2 separate regions of the Homo sapiens genome follow, and region 2 is linked to region 1. The links are contacts of gene promoters, found by promoter capture Hi-C in blood cells and fetal thymus (Javierre and others, 2016). All regions are on one chromosome and are shown on one strand. Each heading gives the region's core, a stretch centred on a gene start or on the middle of the fragment in contact. The rest is flanking DNA. Distances are from core to core; before and after follow the strand shown.

What was found. Contacts are between HindIII fragments. The CHiCAGO score rates a contact against its expected background, and 5 or more counts as called.
Region 2: a fragment that was not itself captured here is called in contact with the fragment with the promoter of PSTPIP1 in region 1 in 1 of 17 cell types (erythroblasts); the score reaches 7.1 in erythroblasts.

What each region holds. Positions count from the first base shown.
Region 1 is chr15:76,993,667-76,997,420 of GRCh38, reverse strand. It overlaps PSTPIP1 (proline-serine-threonine phosphatase interacting protein 1), which reads right to left and starts at 2,295. Exons shown (of 15, transcript NM_003978.5): 1 at 1,812-2,295. The coding sequence starts at 1,847. RefSeq lists a silencer at 2,111-2,300 and an enhancer at 2,541-2,590. The HindIII fragment of the contact is 6,151 bases long and covers 1-3,754 here.
Region 2 is chr15:77,562,932-77,566,685 of GRCh38, reverse strand. No RefSeq gene overlaps it. Among named protein-coding and RNA genes, the nearest start is that of LINGO1, 68 kb to the left of the region's middle. RefSeq lists an enhancer at 443-1,307. The HindIII fragment of the contact is 878 bases long and covers 1,747-2,624 here.

The DNA.
Region 1 (3,754 bases), core at 1,046-3,545:
GCATCAGGAAGAGGTATTAGAATCCAGAGCCCTGGGGCAGGTGATGCCTACAGTGACCTTTCGGGGCATCGGCCCAGACTCAGTGTGAGAGGTTCCCACTGGCTACTTCTCTCCCCTTCCTGCTCTGGCCTTCCCTAGGGAAACTATATGCCCGCCCCAGGCTCAGGGAGCCAGACACAGAGGAGACAAGGCACTTGGAGGCCAGGAAGCCCAGAGGTGCGACGAGCACAGAGTGTGGGCAGGATGCCGCTCAGGAAGCTCCACAGGGGCTGGCTGCTTGCTTCTGCTGCGGCTGCCATACCCTGCTCCCTTATACGCCACCCCTACCTGTGCCCAGATCCTGCCATGGAGGCTGCTCCTTGCCCAGCTCTGCCCTAGGGAAGGCAGGCCCAGGGGCTCTAGGACTGGACAGAGGTCTCAGTGATAAAATAGTCAAGGGGTCCTGGCCTGCCCTGGGCTACAGAGTGGCCTGGGTTTCCAGGCCCTACCCCTTCCCCCAACTTTGCACACCAAGGCAGGGCAGCTAGGTGGTGACTCACATCCCCCATCCCCCAGGGCTCCAGCTGCCAGCCTGGGCCCTGAGCATCCTGGTGCCTGGTCCTCCGGATGGGCTGAGGCAGCTCTGCCTCCATTGGCTTCTCTGGGCTGGGCCCACCCTGTCTTTGTAGAGATGGGGAAACTGAGGCCCAGAAAGGCACAAGGTGCCCTCCCCACGTGGGGTCCTTTGCCTACTGTACAGTCAGAGCAGAGGAAGCAGAACACTCACACGCTGGCCACAGGCCCCAAGTGGAGCCGGCCGGAAGGGAAGGAAGGCCTGGCTCCATAGCTCTCATCCTCCTGGCTGCAGCCCCAGGAAAAGGCCCGGGGAGGGCAGGGCTGTTGGCTGGGGCTCAGCCGGCTGAGCCGAGGGCCAGAGCGTCCTCTTCGGGGTTGGAGGCAGCACCCCGGGACAGCCACATTCCCCAGCTCCAACCAGAGAGGTCTCAGTTTTTCCCCAGAGCCCTGGGCACAGCCAGAGCTGAGGGGCAGAGGGGTAGTTGAAGGACAGCTGGAAAAGTGCTGAGATGACCAGGGGTCCAAGCTGGGCTGCAGGCTACGTGGCCCGGGCCAAGCCACTTTACCTCTACCACTGGCTGGGCGCCCTTATTTCATGGGGGAAATGACTTGATTTAAGCCCGTGTTGAATTTAAGAAAGTAAGCAAGCCATTGCCCACCTGGCTGCCTCCTTGAAGGACCCCTAAGGTCTGCAAGGGACAAGGGGCTGGGTGAGGGGAACAGAATTACCATTTGGAGTGAGGCAAGGTGCTGGGGGCTTTAGTGCCTTGGATCCCCTTGCTGATCCAATGCTTTAGTTGGTGTGTTGATTTCTATTTTATCACCATTATATAGATGGAGAGACTGAGGCTTGGAGACAGAAATGACTTGCCCAGCCTGTAACAGAGCCAAGACCTGAACTCAAGTTTGTCTGGTCTCTAAATCTGTGACCCCTCCTTTGCTGCCCCACACATCCTCCTCAAGCCCCCACCCATGTGTTACCCTCTTCTGAGGAGCTCCTGCTGTGGGGAGAGGTCTCCCAGAGGAGAAAACACACGGGGCAGCAGAGAGGAGGACGCTCATTCACGGAGTCCACTTGCGTTCCAGTCCAGAAGGGGTGGGGGCCTGGGCCACCTCCATGACAATTAAGACCAAGAATCAACCACTATTTTATGAGAAAGCTCCCCTCTCGGAGCCGCATCCCATCACCTGCATGGAGATTTCAGCCTAGCTCTGCCCCCTCCACTTGTTCAGTGCCCCCAACCATCCTCACTCACCCAAAAGGCATCTTTGAACTGCAGCTGGGGCATCATCCTCAGGCGTCTGCCGCGGCAAAGCTCACTCTCCTGCCACAGGCTGGCCTGATGGAGGGCCAGGCGCCAGCAGCAGCGTCCCAGTCCTGGCAGGGCTGGCCCAGGCCCCCCTTCCCGGCCGGCGCCGTCTGCAACACTCAGAAGGCAGCCACGAGCCAGAGAGGAGCTTCTGAGGGGAGGAAAAAGCTCAACCTGTTTTGTTTGGGGCTAGAATCAGCAGCAAAATGAGGAAGGAGTGGAGCTCAGTGATGGGAGGGCGGGCCCTGGTGTCCAGCCCAGCCCCTCACCGACCCTGCGGTGATGGAGGACACAGTCTGGGACCCAGGGCAGGGAGCAGGGATGCCAGCCCTGGGTGGGAGGCAGTGGCCAGTGGAAGAGGCAGGCTGGAGCTCGGGCCGGGCCAGGCAGGCAGGCAGGCAGGCAGCCCGAGGCCTGCGCAGGAAGGTTTGTGCAACCTCCCCCGGGGCAGGCACAGGGCCCTCGCCCACAGGAAGTGGAGTTGCTGTGCTCCCCTGTGCAGCCCCGCCTGCCACCTGCCATCCTGCTCCTGCCTCTGCTTGCCCCCTCCCGAGGTGCGGGCTCACTTTATTCCAGAGGCCATATGCTAAGGGAGCTTGAGGCCCACTGACAGTGTGGCCAGGAGGGGCCCAGGAACCCCAGGTGTGTCACCCGCCAGCCAGTCCAGCACCCTTCCAGGCTGGGCCCAGAGATGCCAGACTCCCCACCCCGCACTAGCAAGTCATTCTGGAGGGGCTTACCCAGGTCTAGGGCATCTGTCATTCATCAAACCCTGGCTGCTCTGGGACCCAAACCAGGTCCTGCCCTCAAGGAGCCCATAGTCTGGGAGCAGACACAGCTGTGCTCTGGGGGGCTGTGAGCACACAGAGGCAAGGTGAGCAGGCAGCAAGATGAGGGAGAACAGCCTGAGGCCCCGGCACTGCCCCCACCACCACCACCGCCACCACCGCAAGTCTCCAGATTAGACGCTGTTTGGGGCAGAGAACCCCCTTCTGAAGATGGAGGCTTCCGGCTCAGTGAATGGGAATGGATGGAGAGAGAAACAGGATTATCAAGGCACAGAGTGGGGTGTTTGGAAACCCAGTCTGAGGCCCAGTTTTTGTTTAATTTTGACCCCACCTTTCAGGGGCTGAGGGACCTTAATAGACCCCCCAACTCGCTGAGCCTCAGCTTCCTCATCTGCCACACCCAGTCTTTGGAAAGTAGACGGTGTCGAGAATATTTCTGGAATTTCCAGTTTGGTGGGCAGGTGCTGGGGGCACTGTGTGGTACCACCTTAGGAAGAGCCCTGGACTAGAGCCCCAGCCCCAGCCCTGAGACGCCACGCCCTGCCGGCTCAGCAGAAGATGCAGCAGGAAGTCCTGAGCCCAGGGCAGGCTGGCAAAATGGGGTGAGTCAGGGATTGTCCGCAAATCACCACCCTCACTGATGTCTGCCTTACAGCTGACGGGGTGATAAGATGAGAGCTGCTGCAGATGAAATAGTTGAGCTCCCAAGTGCCCATTATGCATGCCCAGGGTTTAGAGAGAGGGGGCACACCCAGGCTCTGAAATAGCCACCCAAGAGGAAACACTTTGGGGAGGATTGCAGAGCAATGGGACTGCCCCCAGAAGGCCCTCACCTCCAGAAACCTTGGATTTGAGCTAATCTTTAATCTGTAAGGCGCCCCAGTCAGGTTTTTTGTTACTTGCAGCTGAAGACAATTAATAGTGTAAAAATCCCCTTGAACTTTGTAGGCCATAGAGTGAGCCAGGCTGCACCTCACCTCCCAATGGCACCACCACCTCTGATAGCACTGGCTCAGCCTCCCTGAGCTCAGTTTCTCCATCCATCAGATGGGATGATGCCTCTAGGTCTGGAGCAGACTAGAGACCCTCTGTTAACAGAAG
Region 2 (3,754 bases), core at 936-3,435, 570 kb before region 1:
TCACTGGCCCCTCATTGACTCCTTTTTCTTCCTCACCCCGAATTCCAAGTCCTGTCTGCCTTTAGGATCTCTCCCAACCCCTCCTTTTCTCCGTGTCCACATTACCACTGTCCTGTCCCAGGCTGCTGTCATCTCTCCCCAGAATGAACGCAACAGCCTCCCCCAGCTACTCACCCGCTCTCACTCCTCTGCAAGTTTCTCTCAGCCAAGCAGCGAGATCTTTCAAAGCCATCAATCAGATCTCATTTCACCACCACCCCTCCCTTAAAACCTTATAATCCTTCCCAGCTCCTAAGGTGGCTGATAGCACCTGTGAGGCTTCTCTGGGCCGGTTCACCACACATCCCCGCAGCTCCCTGCCTGCCAGCCACACTGGCCATGCTGCCTCAAGGCCTTTGAATAGCATGGTCTGTTCCCTCCACCTGAAATACCCCTGCTGTGCCCCCAGCAAGATCCCACTTCAGGCCTCAACCCAGGCCTTTCCTTTCCCCTAAAAGAGCGTTTTCCTGAACCCCCAAAAGCTCCTCCCTTTCTCTTTCTCTTTCTACACTCTTCCTTTAGAGCACTTATCCTAACTTATTACATATTTATTCCTTTTTTTTTTTGTCTAATATCCATCTCTTTCAACAGATATTAGCCCTGAGAAGAAACCAACGTCTATTTTACCGATCACTAGAGCACTGTCCCTGGCACAAAGTCGTTGCTCAAGAAACACTTGAATGAACGAATGAATGAGTGGATGAATGAATGGTAAGCCTCCTTGGCTAGAAGAGAGTGGAACGTGGGCACCCACAGAGGACGGGAGTCGGTACAGGGAGGGCAGCCTGGATCTGCAAAGACAAGGACCCTGGCCTAGCCCAGGACGTGGCTCTGGTTGGAGGGGGCGGGCAGTGGAACGAGCCCCCTCGGCTGCTCTGCGGGCAGCGGGGTCAGGGTGCAGAGGGAATGGATGGGAAGGGCTAGGGTGGGCTTATGTGTGGGTGCGTGTGAGCGCGCATGTGTGGAAGGAGTGACGCGCGCGCTGGCTGCCGCGTGGGGAAGGGGGAGCTAGCCTCATTGCTGCAGATTTGTATTCCTGCCGACTTTTATTTCAGGCCTTGTTTATTTCTCCTTAAAACGCGGCTGCTATGCCAAGAGTCGTACCCAAATTAGCTGCGAGTGTGTAATTTTACAGCTATTACCCGGGTGTTTCTGTGACTTGGGTAATAACTAGGGAAATATAAACAAACAACAGCAAAGGCAGTTTAGCAAGGAGGCCTCTGAGTTCGGTGTCTCTGTTTTGAAGTGGAACAAGTCCCATCTCTCCCCTGTCCCCATTCCCACCACCCCTCTCTGAGTCGCATCTGGCCCAGTAACTGGGGATTGGGAGGCCCAAGGGTCCCAGAGCCCCAGCCGTGAAATCCTCCTCTCGTTGCCCCTCCCCCGGGAAAACAGGCCCATCCCCAGAGGCACAGTCCCACCTACCCACAGCGAAGACCCCCTCATGCTCCTCCTCCACAAAGGCAAACAAAGGCTGGCCTAATTCTGTGATATTTCCCTTCTCTGGTGGCTAATGGCACCAGAGCGTGTGTGACATTTCGCTCTCTCTCCTCTTTTATTCCCGCTTATTATCTGGCTGCTGCCAGAGGCTCTGGGCTGAGGCCGGCACTGGCACCCACTCCACCCTATCCCTCCTCCTCTTTGCCTCTGTCCCTTTTACTCTCCCTCACAGTACCTTCGTCATCTCCTCCCAAGAGGGACAAAGCTTGTCCCTCATCCTCCAGGCCCCCTCTGAGGGAAATGGGTCCCAGCAGAGGTCTGTGCTGGGAGGGGGTGGCCTTGGGCACCCAAGATGGGGGCAGGTCCTCAGGACCCCGCATCTCACCTTGGCTCCAATGCAGCCTCACAGAAGCCTCCGGTGTATCCCTCCCTCCTCCGTGCCTCAGTTTGCCTCTATCTGTGCCATGAAGAGGTGAGTCTTGATCCCGAAGGCTCTTCCTGCTCTAGTATTGAAAGTGAACCCCTAAAGGCTTGAGGGATGGCAAAGCCATCGAGGGGTTTTATGGGGCTGTGGGGAGTCTAGGCTGTGGGATTTGCAGCAAGAGGGGTGGGCTTGGGCCAGGAGTCGAGGCAGAGCCAGGGAGCCAGGGCAGAGGAGAAAAAGCTGGAGATCCCTGTGTGGGCAGCTGGCCTCCATTTCAACACACACAGTCTTTGAAAATGCTAACTTTGTTTTTCTTCCAAATAATCTTCATTTTTAAAAAATTACAGAAAGAAAGCAAAAGACCTCAAACTCCCTCTTGTCTCCCCCAGAGGCAACCCCTGTGAATGCTTCACTGTGTATCATTGCCAGCTTTTTCTGAGGTGTCCCTGTTCTATATTTTTTTATACACAGACTTTTTTAAGAAAACAAAAATTGGGTCATGGCATACATATTGATCAGCCACTTGCTTTTTTCCCTCACCAATATATCATGGACACCTTCCAGGTCGGTACAAAAGGATCAATTTTTAAATGGCCACAGGGTGCTCCATTGTACTGCAGGACCACCAGCCCCACACGGAGGGACATCTGGGCTATCTTCAGTTTGGAGCTGTATCTGTTTTCTGGCAGAATAAATAATGGTTACCTGACAACCCAAAGCTTAGCGTCTTAAAGCAAGCGTTTATTATGTTCGCAAGTCTCCAAGTCAGCTGGGCAGCCGTGGGCTGGGCTGGGCTGGGCTGGGCTGGGCTGACTCCCAGATGGGCTCCCTCACAAGTCTGTGGTCAGCAGGAGGATTGACCGGGGCTGCTGGTCTAGGATGGCCTCACCTGGGATGACCCACTTCTTTTCCTCATGTCTCTCATCCTACAGCAGGCCAGCTTGAGCTTGTCCTCATAAATCATGGGGTGGAAATGAGAGTTCAGAAAGAAACCCTCACATTATGGTCAATTGCCTTTCAACAAGAGAGCCAAGACCATTCAATGGGAGAAAGAATGGTCTTTTTGACAAATGATGCTGGGACAACTGGATGTTCATATGCAAAAGAATGAAGCTGGATCCCCTTCCTTGTGACAGGCACAAAAATGATCTCAACATGGGTCAGAGACCTAAATATCAGGGCTGAGGCTAGGGAAGGCCAGGTTGCTGGGGCCAGAGGTGGGAGAGAGTTGGATTAGCCCCTAGTGAGGCCCTCTGGGTCTTCTACAGTGATCGTCATGATTACTTTTTCCTTGGACTTTTGAGGTTGGCAAGTGTCAGTAACAGATCCTGGGGTGAATCAGTTGACACAAGAAGGCTTTGTAAAGATTTTTCATCCCTCTCCCAGTTTATCTGCTTTGGGGTTGGTGGGAGTGGGAATTGGTACAAACTTTGGGGGACAATTTTGCAGTTAATCGCACCATCCCTCAAGAATGCAAGAACCTTAGCACCCCCTCATCTCTCCTTTGCCATCTACAGAAATACCAGCCTCATGGAATAGAATGGTGTCCCTCACAGAATTGCTTCTAACCGCCTCTTTGTAGATCAATCACAAAAGTGGCCCCACACCTCCCTGTATCTACCCCTTTCCAATGTCACTTTGCAGCTCAGTCCATTAAGAGGTGGAGTCAGTTTCTTCATCCCTTGAATCTGGACTGCCTTTGGCCATTGAATGTGGTGGCAGCGACTCTGAGCCAGTCCCAAGTATACACCTGAACAGTTTCTGTATACTGCCACTGGCTCTCTTGGAAGCCTGGTCAGGATCTGCTATGAATACTTGCCAACCTCAAAAGTCAAGGAAGAAATAATCACG